2 separate regions of the Homo sapiens genome follow, and region 1 is linked to region 2. Evidence: promoter capture Hi-C in human tissues and cell types (Jung and others, 2019). All regions are on one chromosome and are shown on one strand. The core of a region is centred on a gene start or on the middle of the fragment in contact, and the rest is flanking DNA. Distances in the headings are between cores, read along the strand shown. Region 1 holds the start of RASGRP2 (RAS guanyl releasing protein 2). Region 2 holds the start of MIR194-2HG (MIR194-2 host gene).

The links. The method cuts DNA at HindIII sites, captures the fragments that hold promoters and counts their contacts. A contact is called where the count stands out against the background at its distance.
Region 1: a contact is called between the fragment with the promoter of RASGRP2 here and a fragment that was not itself captured in region 2, in 1 of the 25 tissues and cell types used here (spleen).

What each region holds. Positions count from the first base shown.
Region 1 is chr11:64,741,437-64,746,173 of GRCh38, reverse strand. RASGRP2 (RAS guanyl releasing protein 2) reads left to right here and starts at 2,032. Exons shown (of 17, transcript NM_001098671.2): 1 at 2,032-2,171; 2 at 3,237-3,380; 3 at 4,062-4,164; 4 at 4,673-4,735. The coding sequence starts at 3,308. RefSeq lists silencers at 916-1,115, 1,366-1,475, 2,466-2,515, 2,676-2,725, 3,036-3,365 and 1 more. The HindIII fragment of the contact is 18,641 bases long and covers 1-4,737 here.
Region 2 is chr11:64,890,051-64,895,818 of GRCh38, reverse strand. It overlaps ATG2A (autophagy related 2A), which reads left to right. Exons shown (of 41, transcript NM_015104.3): 40 at 377-529; 41 at 610-1,273. The coding sequence ends at 846. MIR194-2HG (MIR194-2 host gene) reads left to right here and starts at 2,370. Exons shown (of 3, transcript NR_133640.1): 1 at 2,370-2,408; 2 at 2,993-3,229. It overlaps MIR192 (microRNA 192), which reads left to right and starts at 4,573; the gene lies at 4,573-4,682. It overlaps MIR194-2 (microRNA 194-2), which reads left to right and starts at 4,380; the gene lies at 4,380-4,464. The HindIII fragment of the contact is 4,598 bases long and covers 1-3,985 here.

The DNA.
Region 1 (4,737 bases), core at 783-3,282, 150 kb after region 2:
TCAGCGGCCAGCCTCGCTGGCCGGGGGCGGGGCGTCTGCCTGGGTGGGGCCCACCGGGGCTGGGAGCCGGGACTTGGGCTGAGGCTTCCCGGACCACGGAGGATCCGCGCTGTCGAGGGCAGGACCCAGGAGGGGGAGGAAGCAGAGGATGCTCGGCGCCTTCTTGGCTCCGCCCTTAGCCCCGCCCTACTGCGGCGTTTAAGGGTCTCTTAGCAGGTGGCTACACTGGATCCAAAGTCGGGGGAGTGTTACGGCAGGGAACACTCGCAGACCGCCTAGTCTAGGCCCTCATTATGGGGAAACTGAGGAACAGAAAGGTCCTGTTTCTAAGTCTTACATTACCAAGACTGAGGTGCGGGGGCGGTCCTGGATCCCCCGCCCCAAGGCTGGGAGGGGCACGCCTCGGAAGGGAGGTTTGGGGTCGGTGGTTTCACAGTGAGTGTGTCTGAAGCCAAATGGTCGGAAACCGTTACCCGCTCTCCTAGGCCCGGCTAGTGGGGACCCCAACCGCCTGCGGCTGCCCCTCCCAAGTTCCTCCCTGTTGGCCAGGCATCCAGGTCTCCAGTCTCCGAGCTGCGGAGAACCCACCGCCACATGCGGCTGCCCCTTTCCATTCGACCCTGTGGGGAGCCAGGCTTCCGGGGCCCCGTTCCTCCTGTGTGAACTGGGCCCCCCGCCCCCATTCCCAGACATCAAGGCCGCGTCTCCAGATAGCCACGATTTCATTCCTCGCTCCCCACAGGTCCCTCTCCCCAAAATATTCCCATCTTGTCCTAGCCCATCCCCCAGACTATCTCAAGGACCAGCTGTCCCCACGCCCCCGACCTCCACTAGGCCTGTGCCACCCGCTGCCTGCAGGAAGACGCCCGGTCCCGGGCCGGGTTAGCCCCATGGGAACGGTTTGTCTCGAAAACAGGAACCCGAGCTGGGGGCTGGGCGGGGCGCCCCTTCCCCACCGCAGTCCGCTTCCTGCCCCTCCCGGCTTCCTCCGCCCGACACCCAGGCAGGGCGGGGGGCACTGGGGCGTCCGCGGTTGGGGGAGGGGCTCTTCGTTTCGGTCCCCCCTCCGCGTCCCGGGCGGCGGGGCCTCCGGTCGCCCGCCCTCGGGGCAGCTAGTGGCGCAGCCCCCCGCCCGCGGCCCTGGCCTCCCGGGCGGCGCGGCAGGGGAGGGGTTAAGCTGCCGCAGGGACCGCCGCGTGCGGGGCGAGAGGGAGCCCCCGGTGGGGGTGGCGCAGCCGGCGGTGCGGAGCTCCGCGCAGGGGCGGAGGGGGGAGGGGGCAGCCTGGCGCGGGGGCGGGGGCGGGGCGGCGGGGAGCGGGGCCGCGGCGTGGAGAGCGGGCGGGAGCCGCAGCCGCAGCGAGGCCGGCGGGCGGGAGCGCACGGAGGTGGGGTCGGCCAGGCCGGTGCGGGCTCCTTGCGGCAGGTCCCAAGAGTGAGTGGGCGAGCGCGGGCGGGGCGCCAGGCGAAGGAGGGCGCGGCCCCCAGCGACTCCCCCCCCGCCCAGGGCGGCGCGGGCGGGCTGGGGGCGGCGAGCGGGTGGGGAGTCTGCGGCCCGGGTCTGGGAGAGGGGGCAGCGGCCACGAGAGCTAAGGCGCGCTGGATCCCCGGAGGGCGGAGGACCTCCACGGTGCACCCAGCTTTTCCCAGCCACCTTCCAGCGGGGCCCTCCCCCGCGTACCCCCATTTGGCAGATGAGAAAATTGAGGCTCCCAGAGGCCAAGTGATTCTCAAGGTCACACGAGGAAGCGGTAGAGCCAGGCGGGGACGGCTCTGGGTGGCTCTTAGGAAAAGTCCGCCTGAGAACTCCGTACAGGAGCTCCCCTGTCCTCCAGCCTGGGGGAGTGAGTATGTGTAGGGCCGGGGTACCTTTCCGTGGGGCAAGGCTCTGCCAAAATCTGGGAGTGAGGGGAGTCAGGGAGCTGGGGCCGCAGGGCGGGCCCTGCACCGCAAATGGGAGGGGGGCGACGGAATGGGCGTGCGCACCCATGGGGGTGTGTGCATGTGTGTGGGAGTGTACATGCGTGGAGAGGCACTGCCTTGCGTGTGTGCACACGTGTGAGGATGTCAGCGCCTGTGTGGCCGCGGGACTCAAGGCTGGCCTGGCTCAAGTGAACAGCACGTCCAGGAGGCGACCTCGTCCGCGGGTTTGCATTCTGGGGTGGACGAGCTGGGTATGTGTGCCTGAGGGTTTCTTCGTGCAGGTGTGCACAGGGTGTGGGTGCCATTGTGTGTGAGAGACGGAGGATGGGAGGCCGGTGCCTGTGGCCCGGTGCGTGTAAGTGCGGACGCCTGCACCTCCACTTAGGTCCCCGGCCTCCGACGAATAACTTGGGTGTGGAGTGTTTGCCCCTGCCAGGGTGCGTATGACCCCGCCAGTGACCGGAGTTGCTAATGGTGTCATGCACCCACCGGCCACCCTTGGCGCGAGCGCCCCCCTCTGGACACCCTGCTCCGTGCGCGCTCACAGTTCGCCTGTGCGGGGCCGGGGCCAGGGTCAGGAGCCGGGGATAGGGAGGAAGAGGGCCTGTGGACAAGCTGAGCCGGGACCCCTGGGACCTTTGCGGAGGTGGCCTGGGAGCGCTCAGTTCCCAGGCTCAGGCTTCCCGCTGACGCCTCCTGGCCGCAGCGGGCTCCCCCCGCCCCAGGAATGTTCCTCTCCCATCCAGTCCGCCTCCCCTAGGGCAGGCCCCCTGGGGGCTGCCGCAGCCCCGCCTCGCCTTCCTGGGCTCCCGGGAGGGGGCGAGGCGGGCAGGACGCCTGGGTTCTCTCCCCCCACCTCCCATACCAGGGAGAAATTCCTCCGAGGTCCCCTCAGGCTCTGGGTTCCCAAAATAACCCTGCGGGGGAAGGGAGGCTGTGGAGGGAGGGAAGCGGGAGGGGCGCAGAGCCGAGCTGCGGGGTGCTGCAGGTGCCTCTGGGGAGAGGGCGCGAGGAGAAGGCGCCCTGCGGGGGGCTGGGCGCCAGCCAGTCCTGGGATCTTGGTTCGTCCCCATCCTCGTGAAGCCCCTCGGCCTTCCCGCGACTCCGAGGGTGGGCCGGAAGCCTCTCTGCGGGTCCGTTTCCCAACTGGCGGGTTGCACCATCCCGGGCCAGACCGTTTAACCCCGGGAGTGGCCGCGGGGGACAACTCCGCCCCTGTCCAGCAGGGGGCGTGCCCGCCCCGCCCCGTTTCTGCCCGCGGGGCCGCTCCCCCGCCCGCGACTCCGCAGACTCCCGCTCTGCCTCTCCCGGGACAGGGGTTCGGTCCGAGCCCGGTGGGAGGCTCCCGGAGCGCAGCCTGGGCCCAGCCCACCCCGCGCCGGCGGCCATGGCAGGCACCCTGGACCTGGACAAGGGCTGCACGGTGGAGGAGCTGCTCCGCGGGTGCATCGAAGCCTTCGGTGAGTGGCTCGGGAGGGCACACGGAGCCTGAGCCTAGCCCCGAGTCTGAGCCCGGGTCCCTGCCTCCCAGGCACAGTCCAGGGCACAGCCCTGACCCGGACCCACCCTGCTCCGCAGCGTGCAGTCTCTTTAACGAAAGCCTCCTCCGCAACGCAGGGCAGAGAGATGCACGCCCTTCAGACAGATGAGGTTTCCCTTCTCTAGCCTTCCCCAGCGGCGGCGAAGGGAGGGCCGGGTCCCGGACTCTGACACTTGAGGGGCATTATCTGTCTCCCGGGGAATCCGGAGGAACTCGCTATCTCCGGCCTGGGAGCTGTTTCCGGCTAATGGGGGGCGGCTTATCTGGTGAAGGGGTGCCCCTTCCCCCCAAGCGCTCAGGAAATGACCTCTGGATTCTTGACCCCGGGGAACCCAGGCTCCTTCCGCCCCAGCTGGTTCCCCTCCGGACGATGGGCGGCTCGGGCGCTCCCCTCCTCCAGTCCTCAGGGCGTGCCTATCTCTCGCCCACCACACCTTTCCTCTCTAATTTGCCTCCTGCTCTCGGAGTCCTGGGCAAGCAGGAGGTGGGCGGGGTCGAGCGTGCACCCGAAGGACCGATACCTGGCGGGTTGCGGGGTGAGGATGAGGCATGGTAGCTGCGGACCCAGCTCAGCCACCTGTCTTTGACCCTTCGGAGTCAGATGACTCCGGGAAGGTGCGGGACCCGCAGCTGGTGCGCATGTTCCTCATGATGCACCCCTGGTACATCCCCTCCTCTCAGCTGGCGGCCAAGCTGCTCCACATATATCCTTCGCCGGCCTTGCCAAGGCCCCCGCCGTCGGAGCCCATGCGCAGCCCCTCTGCCCAGCCCAGGTGCAGAATGAGCCTCGCTCCTAAGTATAGGCCACTCCTTATCCCAGAGCTCAGGCGTCGTCCCAGCCTCCAACTAGGGCCTAGGCTCTGCCCCCTCCTTGCTCCTAGCGACTCGGTCCTGTCCCCAGGCTCTGTCCCCAGCCGAGGCCTTGCCCTCCTTCTCCCTAGAGTCTGGGGCCTGCCCCTGCTTCAGGCTTGGGTGCGCCCCGTGCATCTCTCTCTCCCAGAGCCCAGGCTTTGCTTTCAGCCTCCCTCAGCACCTAGTCCTCCACCCCCACCTCCAACCCCTCCCAGAGCTCAAGCCTCACCCCCAGCATCTCCGCAGAGCGCAAGCCCCATCCCTAGAACGTGTCTCCTAGAACCAGGCCCCGCCCCCAGCCTCCCTCCACGCAGGCCTCCCTTTCTAGAGTTAAGCGGCCTCCTTAACCCTCTCCTTCACCTACCAACAATCCCGGAAGGACAACTCCAATTCCCTGCAGGTGAAAACGTGCCACCTGGTCAGGT
Region 2 (5,768 bases), core at 437-2,936:
TGGGCCTCTGACCATCTGGCAGGGGCGTCTGGGGGGCCAGGCAAGGAGCGGTCAGTCTCAGGCGTGCAGCTGCGGCAGCCATGTGGAACCTGCTGAATGTGGTGGTCAGCAGGAAGAGAGGTTTGGGTTGAGAAGACTTTAGGAAAGTCCCCTGAGGAGTCCCACGTTCCTAGGTTCCCTCAGCAGAGTGGCAGGTGCCTAGGAAGGGGAGGAAGAGTGGGAGGAAGTGGGGAGTGAGGCTGAGCAGGACCCCCTAGGCCAGCACAGTGACAGGCAGGGAGGCTGAGGGCTGGTGGGGTCTCAGACTGTCCTGGGGGCCTGGGGCTGACGTGTGCCCCAGCCAGCTGTCCTCATCCAGTGCTCCCATGTCCCCCAGGCCACAGCTGAGACCGTGTATGACATCCTGTCCCCGGCAGCCCCCGTCTCCCGCTCCCTGCAGGATAAGCGCTCTGCGCGGAGGCTGCGCAGGGGCCAGCAGCCTGCCGACCTGCGGGAGGGTGTGGCCAAGGCCTACGACACAGTGCGAGAGGTGACCAGGCCCCCGCCCTGCCCCAGTCCCCCATGCCCATCTCCTCACACAGACCCCGCCCTGACCTCTGGCTTCCACAGGGCATCTTGGATACAGCTCAGACCATCTGTGACGTGGCATCGCGGGGCCATGAGCAGAAGGGGCTGACGGGCGCCGTGGGGGGCGTGATCCGCCAGCTGCCCCCGACTGTGGTGAAGCCGCTCATCCTGGCCACGGAGGCCACGTCCAGCCTGCTCGGGGGCATGCGCAACCAGATTGTCCCCGACGCCCACAAGGACCACGCCCTCAAGTGGCGCTCGGACAGTGCCCAAGACTGAGCCTGGGGTGCCCGGCACCCAGAGGGTGCTGCCCACCATGCTCCTGAGCCTCCCAAGAGCTGCAGCCCACGGGCCCGGCCCGGCCTGGCCCTTCAGGGGATGGCCACTGTGAAGGACGCCTTCCCAGCCTGCCCGTTGCCAATCTGCTGTGAGAGGGGGGCCTCCCTGCCTTGGGGCCTTAGCCCTGGCTCTGCACTTTTCCTCCGGGGAGAAAGGACACTGCCCCTCCCCCGACCTGGGCCCACACTGCTGCCTTCTCCCAGGACGGAGGCTTTTGGACCCTCGGACCCCATCCCACTCAGCCAAGTGTCTTTCTGTGTCTGGGGGGAGGAGGGGATGATATCCGTGTGGTTCGATGTATTATTTTTAAGCTCCGTGAGTGCGTGGGTCAGTGTCTGCATGAAGTGGAATAAACTGCCCACCGCCAGCCCCCCTCTCAGATCCTCTGTCCCTGTGAACCCTGGCCTCAGCCTTGACCTTGGCCCCGCCCCAGATCCCACCTCTGCACCCAGCACCTCCCATGTCACCACCAGGGGTCGCCATGCCTCCTGGCCTTGCCCAGCAGATCAGGGCACAGGGGGACCCAGAGGCACCCAGCCCTGCACGCCTTCCCCTGGCTCTGGGCTCTGCCTTGCCCCTCCCAGGAGGCTGCCACTCCAGCCCCACTCCTGATGTGGCAGGAGCTACGTGGGGCTGCCAGGGGAGGGAGGGATGGTCCTTGGAGCCCAGCTGACCCTGCCTGGTTGTCACTTGAGGCCACTCGGGGAAGGCTGAGCCTGAGGCATTCTAGATGTTGCTCTCACCATCCCTAGTGGGGGCTTTTGGGGTGGCCCAGGCCTTGGCCCCTTGGTTTCCACTCTGATCTGGGGTCCCAGCTCCAGCACTTGGAGGGGGGAGGGGTGCTGGAGCAGCGCTGCAGCCGGAATCCCAACCCTCACTGCACAAAGCTTTACACAGGACCAGGGAGCGCCCATTGCCCCCCACACATCTTGTTTCTTGTGAGCTGCTCCCATCGCGCTCCTCCCTGCCCTGCTTCCCAGTGGCGCTGCACAGAGGTGGGTGGGTCCATGGGGAAACCAAGGCTCGGGTTGGGAATCAGGGAACCCTCACCTTGCTAGGTTCCGCAGGCCTCTGGGGTTAGCAAAGGTCCCCCAGCCCTGCTCTGTGGCCCCTTCTGAGTGGGGGAGATCTGGGTACTGGGAACAGAGCAGAAGCTTTGTCCCGAGGGACCCTGGGGTCCTGGCTGCCCACGGACAGCTGGGGCAGCAGGCTGGTAAGAGACCAGGAGGGCGAGGCCCTGGAGGAGACAGGGCTGTGGAGACTCGGTGCTGATGCCACCCGGAGAGGCAGATGGGGCCCAGCCTGATGCTTCCTGGACCCGCCCCACCCTGCCCGGGCACAGTCCAGGGCTTCCTGCCCTTCGAACCGCACTTGTGATCAGTATTGACGGTGGTGGGATAATCATTAACCACCACCAGGGGCTGGGTCAACGGCTCAAAAGGCCCTGGGCCCAGGGTGTCCCCACTTCCTCCTTGTGCCCCGAAGGCCAGCCCGGCACTCAGGTAAGAGGCTTCCTGAGTGGTAGGACCCCTGCCGCCCTCCCTGTCCTAGGAGGCTCCTGAACCCAGGCACCTCTCTGAAGGGTGGCCAATCCTGAGGAAGAAAGGGACCTGGACAGCCATGGGGTGGCCGGGACGAGCCCCTTCCTCTCTGTGCCTTGGTTTCCACTGTGGGATAAGGGGGCCTTAGCATCAGCGCTCAGAGCTGTGGAGCCAGGATTCCTGATCGGGCGCTGTCTCTGCCAGGCCAGGGCACTTGGACACCACGCTGCAGGAGGCTGGTCTCGCCCAGGCCTCTGTGGGAAGGGCCGCCAGGCTGAGTGGAGGGCCAGCCACCAGCTACGGTGTCTTCCTTCGCAGGTCTGTCCCCCCAGGCAGAAGGATTCCAGCCCAGGGATCCCCCATCCCACCCTGACTGCATCCTGAGAAGGGGGGACGCCACTTCGGGAAGGTTGTTGGGGCAGCACAGGCCCTGGGGCCCTGCTCTGTGACCTTGGGCGGCCCCCTCTGTCTCTCTAGGCCTGTATGCACCACTGGCAAAGGGGGCAGGGCCCAAGTCTACTCTAAAAGCTCCCCTTTCTCTCCAGAAGCTTTGGAGTCTCCCAAAATGCCTGCTGGGTCTCTGCAGGACTGGCACCTGTCACCGGAACCTGTCTGGGAGGGACGAGAACACGCTTTGCAAGAGGAAGCTCTGCCTCACAGAGCCCTGGGCTCACTCAGGGACCCTGGCCAGCAGCTGCTTCCTCTCCCCACAGCGGAGAGAGACCCAAGGGTCCCAGGGCGGATGCTTCCCACCAGGCCAGCCCAGCGTGCAGGGTGGCCTCGTAAGTCCTGATTGACATATGGACAGTGGTTCAGAGAGGTTACGCTACTTGCTCAAGGTCACCCAGCTCCCAGGCCCCTGCTGTCTTCCAGGCCACTGAGGTCCTAAGCGTCCTTCCAGGCGAGCCACTGCTCACAGCCTGTTCCTCATGTTCTGCGGCAGGTTTGTGTATCTACATCTTTTCCAGTTCCCTGTCGTCCCCCTTCCTACACCTCGTCATCCACTATCCCTGTTTGTTTTCTCTGTTCCTTTCTAGTTCTCTACCTGCTCCTCTTATTTTTATTTGAGACAGGGTCTTTCTTTGTCACTGAGGCTGGAGTGCAGTGGCACAATCCCAGCTCACTGGAGCCTCGACCTCCCAGGCTCAAGTGATCCCCCGCCTCAGCCTCTTGAGTAGCTGGGACCACAGGCATGCATCACCACACCAGGCTAATTTTTTATTTTTTGTAGAGATGGGGTCTCACTGTGTTGCCCAGGCTGGTCTTGCACTCCTGGGCTCAAGAGATCCTCCCACCTTGGTCTCCCAAAGTGCTGGGATGCCAGGTGTGCACCGCCATCCTCGGCCTTACTCTTCTCTTCCTCTCTCAGCCCCTCTGCCTCACTATCCCTCTTTCTGTGCCCTCCCCCACACAGCCCCCCACACTTCTTCTTAGTCTCATCTTCAGCTTCCCATACGAGGCCATCCTCATGAAATCAGGCACTGGGAGGTCCCTGGGGACTGACAAGTGCCAGCTGTCCCTTGCTGTCTCTCTGCCCCATGGCTGCAGCAGGGAGGGTGGGCAAAGGGCAGAGGTGACAGTGGCCAAACCTGAAACTGAGGCCCAGCTCTGGTTGGGAAAGAAACAAGGAAACAAAATAACTTGGGGACAGAGGGCGTGGGGTCATCAGAGCGGGCAAAGGCTGCCCAGGAGTTGTAAATCCGAGCCGCTCCCGGCTTTATGAGGCCGATTTGGGGTTGAGCCTGGACTTTGCCCAGGAAGGAGTGCTGGCAGCACACGGGGCGCCAGGTGTGGGCCCCGGATGATAAGAAGCCTCGGTGAAAAGACCATGGACCTGGGGCCACGAAGACTGGGGAGCCCAGGTGAGTGGGCATGGGACACTCTCCAGAGCCCTGCCGAAGGCGGACGCCAGGCAGGGCCCCGGTCTCCAATTGGTTCCCGCCCCCTGTAACAGCAACTCCATGTGGAAGTGCCCACTGGTTCCAGTGGGGCTGCTGTTATCTGGGGCGAGGGCCAGTACCCACGAAGAAGGAGAGGCAGGTGCTGGCCAGCAGACCAGCCAGGACTACCGTGGCGACGCTCCCAGGCCAGATGGTGGCGGGTAGTGGAGGGCTGTCGGTGGGCTGCCGAGACCGAGTGCACAGGGCTCTGACCTATGAATTGACAGCCAGTGCTCTCGTCTCCCCTCTGGCTGCCAATTCCATAGGTCACAGGTATGTTCGCCTCAATGCCAGCCACCAGGACCTGCAGGGATAGGGGAGGGCCGGGGGTGTCCAGCAGTCAGCAGAGATCCTGCGACCCCAGTGCAGCACTCATGGTCCCACCTCCCTCTGTCTCATTCCCCGTGAATGAGCCTGAACAGCTTCAGTCCTGCCCCTGCCCTGCCTGCCCTGTGGCACCTCTATGCTTTGCCCATGCTGTTCCCTTGGGCTGCAATACTCTTCCTAGCTTATTTGCCAGGCTCACTCTTACTAACCCTTTCAAGCTCTGTCCAAGCATTTGCTGCCTCCAGAAGGCCTTATTGAAGCTTCTAAGTCCCCACCTGGGCACCCCCACACAGTGCTGCCGCAGAGCACTGCCCTCTCGGAGCCCCGGTGCTGGTTTCTGCTTATGTCTCGCTCCTCTCCCCATCTGTGAGCTCAGTTCCCAGCCCAGGCGCGTGCCCAATAAATGTTTGCTGAACCAATCCTGAGCCTCTGTCTTGCACCCTGAGGAAGCACCCACCGACATGCAGTGTGGCCAAGGGGGGCTGAGTGCTCTAGGCCCAGTGTTTGTGCTGGAGCCCCCCCACCCAGGATGGGGCCCTGAGCCAGCCTCCCCATCTGCTTCCTACTCTCCCCTCCTTTGCCAGTCTCATCTCCCTGGAGCACAGCCCTGTGGTTGGTGGAGCAGCTTCTCCAGCCCCTAGGATTCCTAAGAGGGCCCAGGACCCCAGCTGCTGGTAGAGGAAGAGCAGCCAACCCAGGACAGGACAGCTGACCCCACCCCTGTCCCGCCTCCCACAACAGCCTCATTTCCACCTATTTCTTTGTGGTGTTTGTTTGTTTGTTTTGAGACAGAGTCTTGCTCTGTTGCCCAGGCTGGAATGCAACAGGCTTCCTCCCAGGAGGAAGCCTCCCCTCCTGGCATGATCTCAGCTCACTGCAACCTCTGCCTCCTGGGTTCAAGCGATTCTCCTGCCTCAGCCTCCCAAATAGCTGAGATTACAGGCATGCACCACCATGCCCAGCTAATTTTTGTGTTTTTAGTAGAGACTGGGTTTCACCATGTTGGCCAGGCTGGTCTCGAACTCCTGACCTCAGATAATCTGCCCACCTCGGC